Linked DNA regions of Homo sapiens: region 1 is linked to region 2. Evidence: promoter capture Hi-C in human tissues and cell types (Jung and others, 2019). All regions are on one chromosome and are shown on one strand. Each heading gives the region's core, a stretch centred on a gene start or on the middle of the fragment in contact. The rest is flanking DNA. Distances are from core to core; before and after follow the strand shown. Region 1 overlaps NEDD4 (NEDD4 E3 ubiquitin protein ligase). Region 2 holds the start of PYGO1 (pygopus family PHD finger 1).

What was found. The method cuts DNA at HindIII sites, captures the fragments that hold promoters and counts their contacts. A contact is called where the count stands out against the background at its distance.
Region 1: a fragment that was not itself captured here is called in contact with the fragment with the promoter of PYGO1 in region 2 in 1 of the 25 tissues and cell types used here (mesendoderm cells).

The regions. Positions count from the first base shown.
Region 1 is chr15:55,868,263-55,874,717 of GRCh38, reverse strand. It overlaps NEDD4 (NEDD4 E3 ubiquitin protein ligase), which reads left to right. Exons shown (of 29, transcript NM_006154.4): 6 at 710-760; 7 at 2,242-2,303; 8 at 5,037-5,139. Among named protein-coding and RNA genes, the nearest start is that of NEDD4, 120 kb to the left of the region's middle. The HindIII fragment of the contact is 4,581 bases long and covers 2,137-6,455 here.
Region 2 is chr15:55,583,138-55,589,664 of GRCh38, reverse strand. PYGO1 (pygopus family PHD finger 1) reads left to right here and starts at 1,320. Exons shown (of 3, transcript NM_001367806.1): 1 at 1,320-1,830. The coding sequence starts at 1,782. LOC124903497 (a long non-coding RNA gene) reads right to left here and starts at 1,115. Exons shown (of 2, transcript XR_007064647.1): 1 at 846-1,115; 2 at 1-362. RefSeq lists silencers at 1,299-1,418, 1,499-1,548. The HindIII fragment of the contact is 20,429 bases long and covers 1-6,527 here.

The DNA of each region.
Region 1 (6,455 bases), core at 3,178-5,677, 280 kb before region 2:
ACAGGTGTAAGCCTCCATGCCCAGTGTTGATTTTTGTTCTAGCAAGTTAACATAGCTGAACTCCAAATTCTGCTTCCCTTTTGGTGAACATCAGCTGAAATCAGTGCTGAGCCCTCTCAGTCTTCCATCTGTTGATTTTCACTTGTTCAGTTCAGAGTAAAACTAGGGATTTAGGTAAGAGTTTATATATAGATTTGGAAGAACTCTGGTGGCTTCTTTTTTTCTGGGACGTTTCTCCTCTTTTTCTAGATATGCTGTCAACCCCAAACTAGGCCTTCTGACTCCTCAAGCCAGTAATAGTGCAGATTTCAGCTTAAGTTCTAGGCTCTCTGCATTATGTGGACTGTAGAATACTACTAGAGGAAAAGCCATATAAATACTGAATCTTACCTAGTGTAGTTCCTTCTTTGAAGGATTGACATCCCTCCAGTTTCTGCTTGTTTGGGGTCATTCTGTTGTACTTTCAAATAGCTCTTTTAGTATTTTGTCACAGAATATAATTGTTATCTGCAGAAGGATTAATCTAATATATGCTACTCTGCCATTACCAGAAGTTGTACCACATTACTTTTTATTTTCCATTGATGCTGCATATGACTGAATAAAAAAAAAACTCTACATTTTCTGTGAATGGTGGCACTATCTCATCAAACTCTTCTAAAGGAATTGAGCGTATTACTAATTATATTTTTTCTTCCTTCTCTTATAGACAAGAGATGATTTCCTAGGTCAAGTGGATGTTCCACTTTATCCATTACCGGTTGGTATAGGTGTCCATGATTTTCCTTTTGGGCTTATTTTTTTAATTTAATAAATACTTACATATATAATATAGCTACTGTAAATAATTGATTTATCAAATGTATACTACTTTTATTTATTGAGCATACTGTTTTCTAAAAACTCATTTCAATTTTCCGTTTCCATTTTCTCTTTAAGATTTCCGTTCATGAACCCCAGTGAGAAATAGAGAATTTCTGATGTTTGTTGGCATTGTGAAAACATTGTGTAAAAAAGATTAGTTTGAAAATATTCTGCTGAATAACTAGAATGAGGAGTGCCTAAGCTCACAGAAGAAAACTAAGATAGTTTACGACAATGGAAACATAAAACACTAAGAATCAGGACTAAGAATATAGCAAGGAGAAAAACAGATTCAGGAAACATTGCAAAATAGAACATTATTGAATCACATGTCTGACATGGAGGCTTAAGAAAATAAGCAAGAAGTAAAGATAATACAAGTTGAACTTGGAAGATAAGAGTGGCGTCTCTTGTAGAAAAGTGAGGAAGAAAAGCCATTTTGTTTTGAAAAGCAAAAAATTTATTTTTGGACAAACAGAGTTTTGATAGGAAACAAAGAAAATGAAAGTTTAAAGTAGACTGCTGACAGAGAGATAAAAATCAGCTAGGTAGGGAAAAGGGACTGGAAGGATTGAGTGTTATCACTGTCCAGATAACAGCAGAATCTCTGAGAATAATGGGCTCTCCTGATGAAAGAGATAAGAACGGAGGGCCAGCCATTGACCCTCAGTCAACGTGAGTGGATCAGAAAAGAAAGAGAAGACAGACAAGGGGAAACAGGAAAAGAGCCAAGTAAAATAATGTCATGAGAATTTAAGAAAGGAGTTTCAAGGCAGACTGGGTAGTTAACAATGCAGAACATCAGAGAAGGATAATAAAAACTAACAACTGCTGAATTTTAAAGAAAGAGAAAAAATACTTCTTTTTCAGTCTTGTGAGTTATATTAATTGGCTCTCCACAGTCTTTCCAGAGCATAATCTTTTTTTTTTTTTTTTAAACAGGGTGCAGGACCATAAGCTTTCAGTAATATATTTAATCCAGTCTTACTTTCCAGGCTGTTGACTTTTTTGATCTCCTAGAATTATCTCTATGCTCTAACCAAGCCAGCCTGCAGACATGTGCATAGTCCGTGTTCTTTTGGGATGTTAACATACTAACCACTCTATACTGTTTTTCTGCTTATTCTCTTCTGCCCTCCCTTTGGCTCCACAACCCACCTGCTCAGCTAGTTTTCATTTGAGTTGTGATGTCGGCTGCAATTCCTCTTGGGCAGGAAAGTGAAAGCACTGTCAAGTTAGCATTTGATAAACTAAAGCTACTTTTTTTTCTCACTTCCAACTTAAATTATGCCTTAGGTGATAGTTCATGAGTATTCTTGAAAAGTACATGCTTTTGGTGTTATAGATATATTTTGAAAACCCACTATTTTATTCTAGACAGAAAATCCAAGATTGGAGAGACCATATACATTTAAGGATTTTGTTCTTCATCCAAGAAGGTCAGTAAATATAAAATAATAATAGCATATTAAATTTTTTATCTCTTCATTACACCTTACAGTAGCCTTATTAGAAATTCAGGGTTTAAACCTCTGTAAATAAGTTACTTCTAAATATTATTATTATTATTATTATTATTTTAAAAGCTTCATTGCTATTTCTGATTAAAAGTACTGTATGCACATTGCAAAACATTCTGAAAATACAGAAAGTGATCACAGCCTTTTGGGAAAGATTCGTTCTCCTAATACTTATCAGACTAGAAGGCTATTTATGTCATATTGTCATACTATGCTTTAAAAAATCACAAACATGAATTCATCTAAAACCATTACCTAACTCGACGTGCACAAAGCCAATTTCAGAAAAACCTAACTATATTTTGCATACTTAGTATTTCAGAAGACTCAAATATTTAGAGAAAATAACATAAGACTGGAATTTAAAACCCAAATAGCATGCTTATAATTCCATTTTCCCAAACAAAGTTACTTGATGTTTATCAAAAAAATTTAAATTTAAGCTGTAACTAAAACTCCTTTTGATCTTCTATACCTCATTGACAAGTAAAATCTAGTGAAAACGTGTGTGGATTTACTGTCAAAAAGGTCAAACTAAAGCAGAGAAAGGACATCTGTGAAAGCAACAGTATTTGTCTTGTTTCTTAAACTATAAAATGCATTTGAAAATGTACTTTTGGAACTTAGTAAAATTTTTCACTTAAAAATGATTTTTTAAATTACTGTTTGTAATGTAAATATTAAAAAAATGAAAAGGAGTGCTCACTGACTGTTAATATTTACTCTCTATAAAGGAAGTCACATTTAATTTCTGTAGATGTCTGGAATGTAAATCTCTTTTAGTCTTTTAATTTTAGACTGATTGTGACATCTGCATATCAAGAATAACTAAATTGTTTTTTCTTATTTGATTGTCCTAGCAGCCTGCTTTTCAATTTGTCACATGCTTTCTAGCGTCTTTATCTTTAAAAAATACAATTTGTTTCTTCTGTCTGCAATGAATATTATTGCAAGTGTAGAAAGAACTTTATTCAGATAGAAAATGTACTACATTCCTAAATTTGTGTGAGCCCCATTAAGTCAAAACCTTGAGGCTTCTTTTCCAATTGAAAAGACATGAAACATACAATTGTAGAGAAACTTTTCAACAAAACATTGTCTGAGCACATTTTCTGTATCCATCTTTTATAGCCACAAGTCAGAATGTTCACATCTCCTTCAGTATGGAGACACAAGCCACATTAGCGGCCTTGGGAATAAGCATCAGGATTTCACTGACTACTCATGAAAGGATACACTAAATTTGCCAAATCCATGAGAACCATACAGAGAAGAGCTAAAAAGATTAGGGGAGGCTTGGGAGTGGGGGTAGGTAATCTCTTGAAGACAGAATAAAAGGATTAGGACTCTTGTCTAGAAAGACAAAGGGTAATTGCTACATATCTGATATCTGTAAAAAATCATCCCCAAAAAATCTATATAGAGAGCTGAGACAAGTAAGGATTTCTTAAGTAAATCATAGGATACTAGAATTGATGAGGACAATAGAATTAAGCCTTAAATTAGAACCTTATGAAAGCATTGTAATTGTAGCACTTTGGGAGGCTTAGGTGGGTGGATTGCTTGAGCCCAGGAATTCCAGACCAGCCTGGGCAACATGGCAAAACCCTGTCTCTACAAAAAAATACAAAAATTAACCGGGCATGGCAGTGTGTGCCTGTAGTCCCAGTTATTTAGGAGGCTAAGGTGTGAAGATCACCTGAGCCTGGGAGGTCAAGGCTGCAGTGAACCGTAATTGAGCCACTGTGCTTCATCCTGGGCGACAGAGGGAGATGCTGTCTCAAAACAAAAAAAAAAAAAAAAAGAAGAAGAAGAAGAAGAAAAAAAAAGCAGCAGCAGCTTATGAAAGACAGGTTTTCAAAAGATTTAAAATATTACTACAGCAGGCAGCAGCCTTTAGCTTAGACAACTGATTATTCAAAAAGGTGATACAATATAAAAATAGATTAGGTAAATTAATGTGTGACAGATTCAAACAGCTGCCAAAGAGATGTAGCAGGTTTCAGACACTGATCAGGCCTTGCCCTCTACTCTTCTGTCATCCAAAAAAATATGGCCAGATTAGCATCCCTAAAGCACATCTCTGAGGATACCTTTCTCTATCCCCCAAATTCTCAGTGATTTACCAAAATATGCAAAATAAAGTCTGAAGTTGTCTGATTTTGCATGACCTCTGGACCATCCCAATCTCCTGTAGTCCCCTTTACATGTCCTATAATCTAGCCAAACTCAACTACTGCAATTTCCTTAATTGCACCCCAAATTTCCCATCTGTTTCCTGGATCTTGCCCTCTTCTTTACTCATATGCCTTTTCCTCTACTGCCACAGGTAAGAATCCTCCCCAGTCTTCTAACCCCAACTCAAAGGCCAGCTTCTCTTTGACATTGTCTCTGATCGTTCACTTAAACTTCCTTAGCATCTTCTTTGTGTCATAACAATTATTTATTTATTTATTTATTTATTTATTTATATATGTTTGCCTTTTCTCTACCTTCTATTCCTTTCCCTAGATATCTTCTGCCCTGGAACTTGTCTTTGAACCTCCCTTTGTAGACCCCCTGGTACCTAGTGGGTGTTCATTAAACTCTTATTAATTGAATACTTTTCTCCCGGTGTTAAAGTTTTATGAATATTTATTTTCTTTTCTACAGTCACAAATCAAGAGTTAAAGGTTATCTGAGACTAAAAATGACTTATTTACCTAAAACCAGTGGCTCAGAAGATGATAATGCAGAACAGGCTGAGGAATTAGAGGTGAGATTTTATAAATATTTGGTTAAACTAAAAAAATTTTAATTTCTTATTTTACTGTACTCTGAAGAACAATAACTATTGAATGAAGTTAACATGTGCAATGAAGATTATTTACTTGGATGTTTATTTCACCCAAGCATTAATAGTTTTCCCTCTAAGGATATTTCCGTAGAAGGAATGGCCATTATTGATGGCCTTCTTAAAGGTTAAGGAGTAGAGAATAGAATATAAATCTAGTTTTTCAAAGTTTTCTAAAACTGTATATTCTCCATTAAAGTAAGAACACAATTTAGTATTTTGAAGTTAAATATATGGACATTTTGAGGAGACTCCACTGATTAGGAACTCTTTTATGAAATTTAAGTCCTGTTAATATTCTTATTATGGTGGGAGGGCTCATAGGAAAGGAGGGGAATTAGGGAGCAAGGAAAATTTAAGTGATCTAATAAAGAGCCTTCTGTATGTGGGGCAAGTAGAATTTAACAATTTTCATGGATGACAGGATGAGAGGAAAGTCCAAGTCAAGATTTGTGTAGAGTTACATGCATCTGGAGTAAGCAAGTAGGAGGCAGAAAGTATGTATTTGGAATAGAATTGGATAGGGTTTGGAGACTGGAATCCTAGTTGCACACTCTGTCTAGCCAGACCTGTGTGAGTCATTGAACTTTTCCGAACCTCAGGATCTTGTTTGCAGAGTGACAGGATGGCATCAGATGACCTCGAGGGTTTCTTCCAGCAAAAAAATTTATGATTTGGAAAGGGGTCAAAAAAACACCTGCTCGTTGAGGTTCCCTTTGAAAGCACATTATCATCAAAAAGAAGTATCATTTATTCAGTAGCTGTGTTAGTCCATTTTCATACTGCTGTGAAGAAATATCAGAGACTGGGTAATTTATAAAGCTTTAAAAACAGGTTTAATGGACTCAGTTCCACATGGCTGGGGAGGTCTCACAATCATGGTGGAAGGTGAAAGAGGAGCAAAGGCACAGCTTATATGGTGGCAGGCAAGAGAGTGTGTGCCAGGGAACTGCCCTTTATAAAACTATCAGATCTCATGAGACTTATTCACTATCATGAGAACAGCACCGGAAAAACTCACTCTCATGATTCAGTTACCTCTCACTGAGTGCCTACCACGACACGAGGGGATTATAGAAGCTACAATTCAAGATGAGATTTGAGTGGGGACACAGCCAAACCATATTAACAGCAGTTACTGAAAGCAAAGCACACAGCGTATGGCACCAAATTGCTCTGGAGGGTTCTTATTTGTTGCCTTGCTTAACACTTTCTCCTCTGACTGAGGGCCTGCTTAG
Region 2 (6,527 bases), core at 71-2,570:
CTCCTCAGAGTGCTTCCTGTAAGAATATTTTCCTTAGCCTGTCCTAGTCTGACTCTTCTAATCAGGAATTCCATAATTCCAGACCACCCTTATTAGATAAAGGGTAACATTTGCCTCCGGCCACGCTATGTCTTAACGACGATCAGCCGCTGTGGCGATTGTCTGGTATGCAGCTGTTGAGGCTGTACATTGGCTTCATGTTAACATCTGTTCTCTGTGACACTGTGCAGCTGAATGAGTTGGGTGTCTGTCTCCGGAAGGACGAGACTCCTGTCTGTAGCTAGTTCTGTGTCCTCCCACGCTTCATGAGTGCTTTTCGGTGATTCTTACATCAAAATAAGCCCAGTGGATAACCAGAAAACCTAGCAAAACAAAAACAAAAACAAAAAACAAAAAACAAAAACCAGGGAAAACAATTTCGTAGAAGTGCGTTAAACAATGTCGGAGCTAGAAGAGACCTTCGAGATGTAGCCCCACTGCCTTTTATAGACAAGAAAACTGAGACCCAGAGAGGTTACCTAAGTCGCCTCCGGTCACACAGCCCAACTGAAGAATGTGGACCGGTGATCACATCTAATTTACAATCACACTGGGGGTGTTCCTCCTAAAATTTAACGTCTAAATGAGATCCAGCCGCGTCACCGCTTCTACCCACGCTCCCCCCTCCCCCGCCCACCGTCCTTTCTGGTATTTATTCTACGTCGCTCTTTCTTGAAGAGTCAAGTCGTTAAAATACCAAGTGGAGGCATTCTACAGACAGGTGTCCACACCACGGCCACGCGGACACGGAGTCGGGGAATCTGGATCCCCACATGCCCGCCGAGAACTCTCCAGCTCCCGCTTACAAAGTTTCCTCGCATGGTACGTTCATCTTTCCGATCCCTAGCTGCGAGGCCGAGACGCCTGCTGCTGTGGCCTCCGACGAAGTTCGGAGATGCCCTTTCCTTGCGAAAGCTGGGCCCGGTAGCGTCGGCCGCGGGGTCGGGCGTTCTCGGGCCTGGCGGTCGGCGAGGGAGCGCCGGGCGCGGGGCGGGGCGGCCCCTAGGCGCGCGCTGCCCACCCGGGCTGCAAGAGCCGCGGGCCCGCGAGCCCCGGCTTGGAGCAAGAGGCGCGCGCGGGCCGTGGGGGCTGGGCCGAGGCGGAGCGCGAGGCGGCGGCGGTGGCGGGAGGCGCCGCGGGACGAGGCAGCGGCCCCCGCCCCCCGAAGCCCGTCCCCGCGCGGGGCTGGGGAGCTCAGGGCGGGGAAGCCGCGGGGCCGCGCCACGTCCCTCGCCCGCCCCAGAGCGGGTTTTACAGGCGGCTCCAGTCTGGGGGCTTTTGTGTCTGCGACTCGGGAGCGGCGAGAGAGCAGACCTCCTCCTCAGAGGGCGCTGTGAGTGTGCCGCCAGGGCCGGGCCGCGAGCCTCCTGCTTCCCCTGTCAGCGGCTCCTGAGGCGGCGGCGAAGAAGAAGGAGTGGGAGGAGGCGGCGGCGGCGGCGGCGCACTCGCCCTCAGCACATGCCGGCCCCGGGTGGGGGGCCGCCCCCAGGCCGCGCTCCCGGCCACCGCCGCTGAGCCCCGCCGGTGCCCGCACGCCGCCCCGCCGCCCCGCCGCCCCGAGGCCTCGTCCTCCTCCCAAACTTTGCAAAGTCGGCCCGCGTCCCCACCGCCCTCGGCCGTGCCTCGGCTCCGAGGCTTGCCTCGCAGCCGCAGCGGCCCCGCGAGGAGGAGGAGCCGCCGCCGCAGCATCAAAGAGACCGAATTCCCGCGGCCTGGGGGGGAGTCATGCTTTGCGGTCTGTAATGTCAGCAGAACAGGAGAAGGATCCCATTTCGCTGAAGAGAGTTCGAGGTAACCGAGAAGGGTGCCGGATTGGGGGAACCGGGGTGAGTGAGGTGCGCGGGGCCCCGTGCCCGGCCGCCGGGAGGCCATGGGGCTCTGTCCGGGCCTAAGTCCGCGCAGCCCGCGTCCCGCCGGCACCCCGGGGCCGAGGCTGCGATCCGAGCGCGCGGCCCGGGCGCCCGCTGGCCCCCGAGACATCCGCGCGGATCCCTCGCCTCCCGACTTTGTGTTCGGAGGCAGTTGGAGCCGCAAGCAGCATCCTTTCTTACCCCCTCCTCACCCACCTCTCCTCGTTCTCAAGACAGCACAATAGGCACCTCAAAGGGTGAAAAACAGACACCCCCTGGCAGAGACCTCGAACGGTGCCCACCCCCTCAAAAAAAGTAAGTTGGAGTACACAAGAGTTGATGCTGTTGAAGAAGGGCTCCTGGGCTTTCACGTCTCTCCTGGCCCCCTTCTCGCCCCCCCACCCCGGCAAAGGCAACAAATATTCAGTTTATTTTCCGTAGGTTTAAGAGGAGAAGCTACAAATTCAGAAGGCATTTTCTCTGTTGGTTTATGGATAAGATATTATCTAAAATCAGTGTTATGCATGGTTGATTTTCTTCTTTCTTGCGCACTGGTTAGGAATTTTCCTTTCGTGTTACTATCATCTAAGAAAAATCAGAGGGAACCATGTGTCAAACAAAAGATACTGCATATAAGTTCACAAAAGTCAAATGCCACCCGGAAATTGGGGGATGCCTTTTAGCTCTTAATAAGGTTAAGACTGAAAGTTCTAGAGTTGGAGTAGTACTCACTGTTCATTAAGCAAATATTTATTGAACATCTACTATGTGCTAGACACTGTTCTTGTTACTGGGATACAGCAGTGAACAAAGCAGATAGACAATCTTCATCCAGTAGGAGTTCACCCTCTTGTGGGATAAACAAATGATAAACAGTAGATACAGAATGTCAAATCGTAGGTGGTATGGTGGACAACAAAACAGGAATAGAGGAGAGGAAATATGTGTGGGGATGGGAAGTATGGATTGTATGTAAGGTGATCATGAAAGGGCTCACCTGGTAGATAATGTTTGAGCAAAGACCTAAAGGAAATGATAGAGCCAGGGCCATATGAATTCACGTGGGAAGAGCAGTCTCTGAAAAGCAACAGCAAATGCAAAGCCCCTGTGTCTGGAATATGCCCAGTGTGTGCAATCAACAGCAAAGAAGCTATTGTAACTGCAGCAAAGTGAGCAAGGAAAGAGTCCTGTGACAGGGGCTAAGGAGTAGGATCAAGAATTATTTGATTCTTGAAAAGTGAGCAAAGGTGATAGATATCATTAAGAGTACATTTTTAAATTATAGCATTTTAATAGTAAAATTACAGTCGTTCAGTAGTCTTAATGCTGCCGGCTATAGGATGATTGTGTATTAGAGGGCCTGGTGTGCCATTTAAAAGACTTTGGCTTTTACTCTGAGAAAAGGTCTGCAGAGTTTTGAGCATAAGAGTGAGTGATCTGACATTTTAAACAGGGCATCTTAAGCTGCTGTGCGGAGAATAGACTGTAGAGAAAAGGCTGAAGCAGGGGAGACTAGTAGGGAGGTGATTGCAATAGTCATCCAAACAGGGTAAACAGGGTAAAATGCTTTATAAATCAGTAAGTAGGAAGGTAAATTTCCGGCTGACTTAAGTGATGTAGAGATGAAGGACCACAGTCATTCATTTTTGTTTTTGTTCAATGTGACTAGAAATTAAACATGTATAGAACTAGCTTGTGACACACAATCCAAAAGACATCCACTCAAGAGTATTTTGGTAGAAAATGATTTTCTTAGCCATTTAAGAGAAAACATAATTTAGAGAATATTGTTTTTAAAGGCTTAATATCAGCACAACCTTTAATTTGGTGAAATATTTTAATTGTCTTTTTCTGTTTGTGGTTGTGAGTTGCCAAAGCCTTTAAGGAATAGACCTTCCTGAGATACAATTATTCCCCTGATATTTGTGCTGTATAATTTTGCCTACTATTATAAATTGTTTTGGGGTTAAAGGAAAAGAAAGAGCTATCAAGTTTATACCTTTGAACTGAATTATCAGTCCTAATCAAATTTAATTCTAAATAAAATGGATGAGTGTTTTATTGTGGGTCAAGAACACAGATATATCTTCATTTTGTTCCAACTGCTGTTAAGTTCTATGGCGTAGCTATTGGGGTTGGCTCCGGTGTCAGCTCAAGAATATTCTGAGAGTTAAGTACCAGAATAAAAGACAAAACACTTTTTAAAATAAAAAGTCAGTATTTTTATGTTATGGGGAGAATTTTCTTAATGTCATTTTGTAATAATTAGAACATTCATTAAAAAATTTTTTGGAATATTTTATGATTAGCTCTTCTGAAGCACCATTCTGCTGAACTTCATTGCCCTGGAGCTTTTTGTTATTTAATGTAATTTATATCATCAGACTGCATGCAGGATGTGGTGTTTGCAGGGCATAAACTCTGGAGCAGTGCTTTTCAAACTGTTTCCCATCTGCTGATGTGATAGAGACAGACCTTTTTAATGGTTGTGTATTTATTTTATATGTATTAAAAGAGTCACCAAATACCTTGCTTAGGATAAGGCTAAGATACATATGTGTATAAATACACACATATAGCAATTTAAATGAATTATTAACACACATATAGCAATTACATGAATTATTAAGAAAGTAATATTATAGGTAGAACTCAGATATGGCAAAACTAAAACATGAATGACTGAGGACTTTACAGTAGCATGCTCTGCAGACCAAAAGCATCATAATCACTTGTGATGCTTATTAAAATATAGATTCGTGGATCTACGGAATCAGGACTTCTGGGATCCACAGAGTTGGGACTTCTGCATCTTTAACAAGATCCCCAGGTGCTCCTTATGCATACTGAAGTTTGAGAAATGCCACTAATAGACCTAGATTATAAAGGTGTGAGTAGACCAGAAGCAGCTGGCTGTGGTCTTCCAAACTGTCCTTATATTTTAACAATAGATTTAGAATTACTCTTTAGTGACACAGTATCTTACTCCTATTTTCTACCAGTTCTTAACACTCCACCCCCAAACCTTCACCTTTTGATTATAAGACAGATCTATGAGGACAGGTACTATGTCTTGATTATCTTATTTGCCTTGCCCATAGTAAATGTCAAATGAATGAATGAGTGAATACATGAATTATGCTGCTTTCTGATAGTCCATTTCCCCTCATACTACTTTTACTTGCCCTTTTCCCTTAGAATGTCAACTGCCATCGTTATTTTAACCAATACTCCCATTCTCCAGTATTCCTAGAACTCTTTTAGGCATTGATCTGATGGCAATATTCATTCATTTATTCAACAAATATTTATAGAGCAATCACAGTGCCATATAGTGGGAATGCACTAATTAAGATATGACACCTGGCTGGGCGCAGTGGCTCACGCTTGTAATCCCAGCACCTTGGAAGGCTGAGGCAGGTGGATTACTTGACTCCAGGAGTTTAAGAACAGCCTGGACGACAACCTGTCTCTACTAAAAGTACGAAAAATTAGCTGGGCGTGGTGGCATGTGCCTGTGGTCTTAGCTACGTGGGAGGCTGAGGTGGGAGAATCACCTGAGCCCAGGGAGGTTGAGGCTGCAGTGAGCTGAGATCGCACCATTCCACTCCCGCCTGGGCAATTGGAGTGAGACCCTATCTGCCCCCACCAAAAAAAAAAAAAAAAAAAGGTATGACACCTGTCTTCAAGAAATTGTTAAGTCTAGTACAGGACAGTGACAAATAAATAGCTACAAATAGCATGATAAGGGCTGTGATTATTTATAGGAAATAAAGGAACACATCTTTTGGGGAATCAAGGAAGGAGAAGAATTCTAAGAAGTAGTGAGTGTTCTTTTGTCTTAAGTGATGTACAGAAAGCATCAGAGGAGATAAAAATGTGAGAAAGGGTCTAGGAGGTCTCTTGTGATTTTGAGAAGGCAGTTTTTAGGAGGAAACCACATTTCAAAGTGTTGAACATTAACGTGGGACCAGGTGTGGTGGCTTATGCCTGTAATCCCAGCACTTTGGGAGGCTCAGGCAAGAGCATCACTTCAGCGCAGGAGTTTGACACCAGCCTGGGCAACATATGGAGAACCCATCTCTACAAAGTTTAAAAATTAGTGGTGGTGTGCACCCGTAGTCCCAGCTACTCAGGAGGCTGAGGTAGGAGGATCCCTTGAGCCCAGGAGGTCGAGGCTGCAATGGGCCATGTTCACACCAAGACACTCCAGCCTAGGTGACAGAGCAAGACCCTGTCTCAAAACAAAAGAAAACAAAAACAAACAAAAAAATGTGGTAAAAGATTAAATGATGAAGATGTGGCTTAAAACTTAAAAGAAGCTTGATGGTAGACAGAAAGACATAGCAAATATCTTAAAAAGATAGTCAAGAGAAAATATGAGTCTTTTTTTTTTTTCATTGGAAAAAGACTTAAACGTATTTGTAGATTTACAGAAGAACCCATTGTAGAAGGACAGGGGAAAAACTGGAAAGGCACCAGAAAGAGGATAATTCATTAATTAATACAGCATTCAATACATGTTTAAAAAATATAGACCATGTGCTATACAATCATTCCAGTAGCTGGAGATGAGACAGACAAGGTTTCTATTGTCATAAATCAGGTCTTTGCAGCTAAGGGAACAAGGTTAGCATC